Regions from separate parts of the Homo sapiens genome. Here region 1 is linked to region 2. Evidence: promoter capture Hi-C in 16 types of primary human blood cells and fetal thymus (Javierre and others, 2016). All regions are on one chromosome and are shown on one strand. Each heading gives the region's core, a stretch centred on a gene start or on the middle of the fragment in contact. The rest is flanking DNA. Distances are from core to core; before and after follow the strand shown.

Evidence for each region. Contacts are between HindIII fragments. The CHiCAGO score rates a contact against its expected background, and 5 or more counts as called.
Region 1: a fragment that was not itself captured here is called in contact with the fragment with the promoter of FMO4 in region 2 in 6 of 17 cell types (naive B cells, total B cells, naive CD4 T cells and 3 more); the score reaches 9.8 in naive B cells.

What each region holds. Positions count from the first base shown.
Region 1 is chr1:170,968,886-170,973,912 of GRCh38, reverse strand. MROH9 (maestro heat like repeat family member 9) reads right to left here. Exons shown (of 22, transcript NM_001163629.2): 8 at 2,030-2,165. Among named protein-coding and RNA genes, the nearest start is that of MROH9, 36 kb to the right of the region's middle. The HindIII fragment of the contact is 740 bases long and covers 1,534-2,273 here.
Region 2 is chr1:171,311,166-171,315,516 of GRCh38, reverse strand. FMO4 (flavin containing dimethylaniline monoxygenase 4) reads right to left here and starts at 1,334. Exons shown (of 10, transcript NM_002022.3): 1 at 1,104-1,334. The HindIII fragment of the contact is 2,730 bases long and covers 30-2,759 here.

The DNA.
Region 1 (5,027 bases), core at 654-3,153, 340 kb after region 2:
ATAATAATTCTTTTAATGTCACACTCTACTCATTCTATCATCTGTGCCATTTCTCTATCGCCCAGGCTGGAGTACAGTGGCACGATACCAGCTCACTGCAACCTCTGCCTCCCAGGTTCAAGCAATTCTCCTGTCTCAGCCTCCTGAGTAGCTGCGATTACAGGCACGCACCACCATGCTCAGCTAATTTTGTATTTTTAGTAGAGACGGGGATTCACCATTTTAGCCAGGCTAATCACGAACTCTTGACCTCAGGTGATCTGCCCGCCTCGGCCTCCAAAAGTGCTGGGATTACAGGCATGAGCCACCGTGCCCAACCTAATAATTTTTTTTAAATTGGATTTCAGACATTGTTAATTTTAACTTGTTGAGTGCAGGAACTTTTTTTTTTATTTCTAGGGGTATTCTTCAGCTTTGTTTTGGTAGGTAATTAAAATATTTGGAGATAGTGATACTTTTAGATCTTGTTTTAAGGCCTTTTTAAGTAGCACTAAAACAGTTTAGGATGATTTTTTTTCTCCTAATGAGACAAAACCCGTCTGAGTACTGTACCTCGGTACTTGTGAATTATAAGGTTTTAAATTCTGGCTTACAGGCACAGGCATTATCACTAGCCTTTGTTGAGCACTGAATCTTTTTCTCTAATCATTTTTGTTGTTTCCTACCCTTCAAACTCAGGCAGTTTACTTGCATGCATGTTCTCATTAGTACTCAGCTAAATACTTAAAGGGGGCTCTCTTTAGATCTCTGCAGATCTCGAGTTTGTGGGTTTGTGCGTGCGTGTGTGTGTGTGTGTATGCGTGTGCATGCACTCATGTACTCCGTTCTGGTACCCTGGCCTTTCAACCCTAGCTATTGACCTCTCTGGACTCCCATTTCTGTCTTTTTAACTTGATGAGACCACTGGCTTATCTCTTTTTGTGTTGGCTCTTAGAAATGTACTCTAGGTGGTAAGCTCAGGCAATTACAAACCCCACCTCATTCGTTCTCACCTCCTCATCTTTCAAGAGTCATTGTCCTTTATTATTTAATGTGCAATGAATTGAAAACTCTGTGTGTGTGTGTGTGTGTGTGTGTGTGTGTATTTTTTTTTTTTTTTTTGAGGCGGAGTCTTGCTCTGTCACCCACGCTGGAGTGCAGTGGCATGATCTCGGCTCACTGTAAGCTCTGCCTCCTGGGTTCACGCCATTCTCCTACCTCAGCCTCCTGAGTAGCTGGGATTACAGGTGCCTGCCACCACACCCGGCTTATTTTTTTGTATTTTTTAGTAGAGAGGGGGTTTCACTGTGTTAGCCAGGATGGTCTCGATCTCCTGACCTTGTGATCCGCCCACCTCAGCCTCCCAAAGTGCTGGGATTATAGGCGTGAGCCACTGTGCCTTGCCAAAAACTATGTATATTTTTAAGGTTGCTTACTATAGGAGTGTAAATAGAGTAAATGTGTTCTCTGTTATTACATCCTGGACAGAAACAGAGGCATAGCCTCCATAGACAGAGGCTCCACCCCTTACAAATATACAAATATTCTTAAGCTTTGTTCTAAAATGCAATTAAATTACTTGGAAATAGCTTAATACTTTCAGGTCTTGCTTTTATGCTTTGTTAGACAAGCCACAGCAACATTTATTTTAATCCTAGTCTTATTTTTCTCCACCATTGAAGCAAGAATCTTCTGAGTAGTCTATCAGATACTCAATTAGACAGAAAAAAATACCGCATTTTTAAAGTCCCATTGGTAAACTCTCTCCTTCTCTGTCCTCCCTGGATCCACCCAGCATTCCTCTCCCTACCATTAACCCTCAAGTAATCTAAGCACAGTACTTTATAAATCTTGAAGAACCAACCACACTATTACCAAAATTTCTTGACAATGCTAAAAAGATTAAAAGACACATTTTAGAAAGTATAGCCATGACTCTTGGGGCAGGATTTAGAAATTAACAGACGTAGAGCCTTCCCAGGACCTATAAGTTGAATAACGAGGGACATATTCTTAGTAATCCTGAGAAAAGATGGTGAACTGTTCTTACCGTTCTGACACCGTGCAATGTAGAGGAGGTGACACATTCCCAATGATGCTTGTTTTACAATCGAGGGATCTTCATGGGAACACAAAAGAGACAGCTCTGCTGCCAGGAGACCCAAACATGGAGCATCAACACTTATCTAATGGAGAAACAAAGGAGAACATGCATTTGCTATGCATAGCCAATATGAAAATGTCTGCATGCATCTGATCCTGTTATAAATCAGACTAGGATTCTAAGATAAGCTTCAGAGTTTACAATATCTGTAATCAAATCCTGGCCCCGTTACTGACTCTCAATTTCCTCATCTGTGAAATGAAGACAATAAATTCCACTTTGTAACAGTTATTGTGGAGAGTAAGGGGTAACACTGATGACAAGAAGAAAAATTCCTAGGAAAGTACTTGGACATAATGGTGACTCAACTAATGTTAGTTTCTATGCCATGAAGTGGGTAGTCACTTGCAGGTAGCAAATTCCCAGGACATAGAAAAGTAAGGTGGGCTGTGTATTTCCAAAACCTTTAGTACTTCCTTCTTCACATACGAAACACTAGATGTTTCTACAAGTCACTGAGGAGGCATGCCACTTTTCCTCTGGAAGTTATTCTGACTCCTCTCAAGGGAATTCATTTTTTTAAAATGCAGATCATTTGCTTTTGATGTCAAAGCTACTACCAAAATATTTCTGTATTTCTTTCTACAACTTCTTCAACCCTTAGACTGATCAAATATTTAGATTTTCACCTTAATGGACCTCTCTGGCTAGATAATATCCAAACAGAGAAGGGAGTAGAGAGAGAAAAGAGGAAAGGTAGAAAAGGCATTTGCTTTTATGAAAGTATGAGGGCCTTTACCAATTTTGCATGTCTTTTTTTAGACAAAGAAGGGCTCTGATTAAATGTAGATTTGGCAAACTAGCAGCATGACTTGCAGATAGTTCTTGCCTCCAAGACAAGTGAGTACTTTTCCTAGGTAGAGGCTTTGATGATTGGAGCAATTGTTGATGGTAAACTCTAGGGGGATCCCAAGGCCTGCTTCTGCTTCTGTTGACCTTTTTCATGCCCCATTTTCCCTGCCCTTTATGTGGCTTAACTCACCACTCCCTGCCCACTCTGTCTCTCTCTCTCTCTCTCTCTCTCTCTCTCTCTCTCTCACACACACACACACACACACACACACACAGAAATTCCTAAGGAAGAAATATGAAGTGACCTGGGTCATCTAGGTCATGGGCGAAGGCCATAATTGAATTGTGATGTGGGGAGTGATGATCTCAGTAGGAGAAGAGAGATTATAAATCTCTTTTTTTCCATGGATATTCTCCTTGCATTCTTTTCCACCCGTACAAAGAGTGGCCTGGTCCTTCCCCTTATAGGAGCTCTGTGGCTTTGGAGAATCTGGGAGCAGACAGCCTCTGCTCTAGGCCCTAGGGGGAAATGCTCTCTTTGCCTGAATGTCCTTTTCTTTGGGTTTGCATTCCAAGTTTTTTTTTTTTCCCACTCGATGGCAAGATCTTAAAACCATCATTGTGTATGGGCATGAGAAAAAGGATCAAGTTTTCTCTCTCTACTGGGTATGAGAGAAGAGTAGTACTTCTCACAGCTTACCTCACTGAAGCTGAGCACCACTTACAGGGGATTGGCCTTACAGTCATCTTATATTACAGGTTTTGCCTCAAATGTCCTCTCTGATTATCCCTGCTCAGGAGCTTGTTAGATGTGTAGTTCTTAGTAGATGTTTTTGTAAATGAAGCTCCTAGTGGTTTCCTTCTGTTCTGTTTGCCAGTTAGGATCTATCTAGGTGTATGTCTCTAGCAGAGTATGTGTGGTCGTGCCTAGACTGCATATCCACTTACTGTCACCAACTAAAAAGGCATGTTTAGGAAGTGGGACATGACCCAAGGTAGGCTGAGAGAGGAGTAAGGCAGCGTGGATCGTGGAGCACACTGATGTATATCCTGCCAAGCCCCTTCAGAAGCGTGACAACCACAGTTACCCCTCCTCTAAGATGAGACTTTGAGAGCTTTCGGTATGATATATCCTGCCTTTATAGAAAATCTACCCAAGTACTAAAAAGAAGCAGATATTTAAAAACTGGAGAAAAGTAGCTTCTCGGTATTCACTCCTAAACCTAAGTATTCCTGCTTAGTTTTCTGGCCCTTTTAACTGTGCCCTTTCTTTGTAGATCTGGCCTCTCCAGTCCCTTATCTTAACAGTAATGATAGTGTTAAGTGCTAGGTTCCAGAAGCAACCACTTCTATGGTTTTCAGCTGCTTCTTCTGGAAGTCTCCCCTGTTTCTATAAACAATGCACCTTTGCTTCTAACATCAGTTTGAGACATTGTCTATCTCAATTCCATTCTTCCACTTCGCCACAATTCTCTCAATAGAGAACATTACTCATCATAGTATATTATTTTTAATTCTTCTACTTTTGTGTTTTACTAATATATTAATACTTTTATTTCTTGTTTCATAGAACAGAATAACAGAATAGGAATGTAACAGGATAAAACATAACAGAATAGGAACATAAGTAGAATCATACAAAATGTAGCCTTTTGTGCCTGGCTTCTTTCACTTAGTATAATGTTTTCAAGGTTTATGCATGTTGTAGCATGTATACAACTTGATTCCTTTTTTTGAGTGGATAATATGCCATATGTGTGTGTTAGATTTTATTTGTTCATTTATCTGTTGATGGACATTTAGATTGCACTTTTCAGCTACTGTGAATTTTGCTGCAATGAACACTTTGTACAAGTTTTTGTTTGAGAAACTGTTAAATTCTTTTAGGTATATACCTAAGATTTCTGTGTCAAATAGCAATTCTATGTGTAACTTGTTGGAGAACCACTAAACTATTCTCTGCACTTTAATTTTTGCACTTTTGAGCTCATAGCATTTACATTGTATTCAGTAACTTATTTAAGTTTTCCTGTGCTGGGTTTATAGATTAATTCTAAAAGTTGAAAATCAATAATATGGTCTCACCATGACT
Region 2 (4,351 bases), core at 85-2,584:
AGTGGCTTTCTCTTTGTTTCCTTCAAGCTTGAAAGGACTGTTCTTATGTCTGAAAACCAAGTAATTGGTGCACAAAAAAAAAAAGATATGAATTCAAAGGTAGGCGAGAATACTGCAGGCTTGAAGGATTGGGAGAACGTGTGTGCAAACTCTGCAAACTATAAAGTGGACTTCATAAGGTACTTGGTTGCTCAAAGGTGCTTATATTTATTTATTTATTTATTTGAGTTGGAGTCTCACTCTGTCTTCCAGGCTGGAATGCAGTGGCACAATTTCGGCTCACTGCAACCTCCACCTCCTGGGTTCAAGTGATTCTCCTGCCTCAGCCTCCTGAGTAGCTGAGACTACAGGCAGGCGGCACCACGCCTGGATAATTTTTGTATTTTTAGTAGAGACGGGGTTTCACCATGTTGGTCAGGCTGGTCTCAAACTCCTGATCTCAAGTGGTCTGCCCTCCTCGGCTTTCCAAAGTGCTGGGATTACAGGCGTGAGCCACCGTGCCAGCCATAGGTTGCTTATATTTAGTCCCTTGGCAGAAAGGAGACCTGACCTATTGAACTAGACCTTTGTACAACGGGAAAACCCCACCCTATACCTGACTGACCAGCAAATGTAGGAATCCTTTATGAGACATGGAGAGACTTGGGTGATTTGCAAATCATGTAATCAATTATGATTTCTTTGAATTTGAAATTTGATCATTTTATGTTTCTTATCATCATCCTACCATGCTCTTGCTTTGTTACAGTATTTTTTTCCCACGCCATCTATGGGGTATTTGTTTCCCAATGGCTGGCATTTCCATCTCATTCATAAGATGAAATCAGAGGTCACTGGAGTCACTGAAAGTCTCATGATTCTGTTTATCTCACTGACACTTTCCTTTTGGATGGTTCTGTCCACAACATAACTTTGTTTCCTTACAACTTCCCTTTGCTTCCTGACTCTCTCCTTAATTCTCTTGCTTTAGCCCTAGTCAAGAGACCCCAAAAGAAGATAATCACATTCATTCTTAAGGAACACACTCCAAGAAAAACATTCATCTTTTGTGAAAGCAGTTTCTGGATCATTTCCCCATTAAAAAAAAAATCCAGGACACTTACCTTGGTTAGCATAGAGCAGATTCTTTGACTTAAATTATTTCTCAAAGTCAAGGAAAGTGTTTGTCTTTTTTTTTTAAAAAAGCTCAAAACCCAAATTCTTTTTTCTGAAAGAAAAATAAATGGAAAGATGACTTTTGTAAAAGTGCCCTCAGTTTAAAACAAAAGCCATTCGTCTTTTCTGTTATGCTAGTGACAGCAGAAAGTATACAGACTAAGGAAAAAAAGTTGTGTAAGAGGCAAGCGTGATACTTCCGTGATCTTAAGGGAGGGCGGAATGGTGAGTTAGAATACAGCTGTTGGATTGGCAGAACATAAACGCTTCCTGCCCCTTTACCCCACCCTCCTCAACGTCATAGTTCTGGCAAAGCCCTAAAGCTATGGGAAGCACATGATAGCGTCGCTTTTGCCATTATAGTCTGTAGAGGGCGCCAAATCACCCCAAATTACAGCTTTCTCAGCGAAACAGGAGTTCTACTTTTGGAAACAAACTTCTACACCCTGACTCTTGCTTGGATTACCATAGGAGCTGTCCAAAGGAGAAAGTTATTTAGATGACCATTACCTCATCAAGTTCTTTCATGCTTGGAGTTCTCCAACCCCAGAAATGTGATTTTAAAGTTCAGGACTTACAAGGAATTTAAGCTGTTTTGTCCTTCAGATTGGATCAGCAGAGGGAGCTGGTGAAATGTGTTTGAGAAAGCATAAAGCTATTTTTAGATATTAACCTAGGGCACAAGAAAGGTAATAATTATAGAAGCTGTGGCAGAAATAGAAAACTTAACTGTTTTTCCTTCCACTGTGTGCTTGTAAGATAATATAACAGACCATCTTTAGGACTTGTGTTTAGGGACATTTTCCAACATGGTTCACTGAACAATTTCTAAACCACATTTGCTTGTGACTACACATGCAAATGCCTACAGGAGTGAGGAGGGTAACATACACGAGGAAAGTGGGCCAGATATGATCTGACTGGAAAGTACTTTCTCTGTCTATTCAGTTCAGCTAAATGTTGCTATTTGAGAAAATGAGCCCAATATGGCAAGGCCTTAGGTTCTTTTCAGTAAAAGCTGCAAATACAGATTTTAATATAAAATCTTCTGTTGGCAGCAAATATTTTCTTTTGAAAAATATCATGGAATATTATGCAGCCATAAAAAGAAATAAGATCATGTCCTTTGCAGGGACATGGATGAAGCTGGAAGCCATCATCCTCAGCAAACTAACACAGGAACAGAAAACCAAACACTGCATGTTCTCACTCATAAGTGGGAGTTGAACAATGAGAACACATGGACACAGAGAGGGGAATGTTGTAGGGCCTGTTGTAGGGTAGGGGGTGAGGAGAGGGAACTTAGAGGAGAACAGGTCAATAGGTGCAGCAAATCACCATGGCACACGTGTACCTATGCAACAAACCTGCACGTTCTGCACATGCATCCCACTTTTTTTTAGAAGAAATAAAGAAAAAAATTTAAAAAAAGAAAAAAAAATATTGTGTCCAGAGTTAGTTCCTTCCGGTGGGTTCCTGGTCTCCCTGACTTCAAGAATGGAGCTGCGGACCTTTGTGGTGAGTGTTACAGTTCTTAAAAGATGGCACAGACCCAAAGAGTGAGCAGCAGCAAGATTTATTGTGAAGAGCGAAAGAACAAAGCTTCCACAGAGTGGAAGGGGACCCGAGCCAGTTGCTGCCGCTGGCTGGGGTGGCCAGCTTTCTCTTATTTGTCCCCTCCCATGTCCTGTTTCTGTCTTATCAGAATGCCCTTTTCTCAATTCTCCCCACGATTGGTTACTTTTAGAATCCTGCTGATTGATCCATTTTACAGAGCGCTGATTGGTCCATTTTACAGAGCACTGATTGGTCCATTTTACAGAGAACTGATTGGTGCATTTTACAAACTTCTTGCTAGCTACAGAGCACTGATTGGTGCATTTTACAATCCTCTTGTAAGACAGAAAAGTTCTCCAAGTCTCTACTCGACCCAGGAAGTCCAGCTGGCTTCACCTCTCAATACCCCCTTTAAACAGGACACCCCAACTGCTTTTGAGAATTGCGCAATGACTGCTCTAGCTACTTCCTGCTGGATAGGGGTGAAGAAGAGACCCTGAATTGTAGTATCCTCCAGAGGGAAACTCTCTAGGTATCAAAGGGCCAGTGGGTCGATCCAGGGGGTCCTTGGTAGAAGTTGTTAGTTGAGCTCATTTGGGGTTTAATTTGCAAAACCATCTGTAGCTTGATGGCCTCGATCCTGGAGGAAACAAATTGACAAAGAGCTTAAAAATACAGGGCCCGAAGGCAAGTAATAGCAAGATGGTTGTCATGAGACCTAGAAAGGGGAGAAGCCATGTTGCCCAACTCCAGAGAATGGTATAAGAATTTGAAAGGCATTGTCTGATTTCAGAAGACTTTTCCTGTAAATGCCGGGTGGCGTCTCATATTAACCCTGACTGGTTAGTGTAAAAGCAACACTCGTCCCCTAAGAAGGTGCAAAGTCCTCCTTTCTCAGCAGTGAGGAGGTTAGGCCTCAGTGGTTTTAGAGAGTCACTGCTGCCAAAGAGTCTATTTGGGATTGTAGAGTAAGGATAGATTTTGTTCTTTCTTGCAAACTGCCTGAGAAATGCTTTGAGAGTGTGTGGTAGTAGGATAATGAAGTGGATAAATCTGCTATTCCGGTTCCTGTAGCAGTGGCCATTCCTAACCCTATAAGTAGGGGTATTAGTTGTATGGCCCTGTGCTGATGGACTTGTGCTTTGAGGAGCACTGATAGGGTCTGGGCAATGTTTATATTGGGACTTAGGAAGACTAAGGTGCAGGTGCCTGTCCAGTTGGTGGGGAGGCAGATATAGGTTGACATTCCATGTAAGAAGAATACGTCTTGGCTGGGTAGACAGAACTGGTTGTGTACGTTAAAAAGGTGTGTGAGTTTGTTGTTTTCATTTTCCCATACTCCTAGAGTACGTGCCAAGGTGGCTCCGGTGAGTGGCTGGAAAGGGGTGTTGGGAGCAAACTGAGTGGCTCCCTGTGCTCTATCTTCCCATTGGGGGAAAAAGCCGTTTTGTATCTACTAGGAACCATTCAATAGATTAATTGAAAGAGGGGATGAGGAGGCATTCACTAGTGGTGGGGGCACTGCTGCAGGGGGTCCAGGGGTGAATGGTCATGCAGGGAGTATGTTTGCTATTAAAAAACCCAGACTGTTTGTTAAGCAGGGAGGAGGTGATGATTTTTGGAGGCTCTGAGAAGTGGA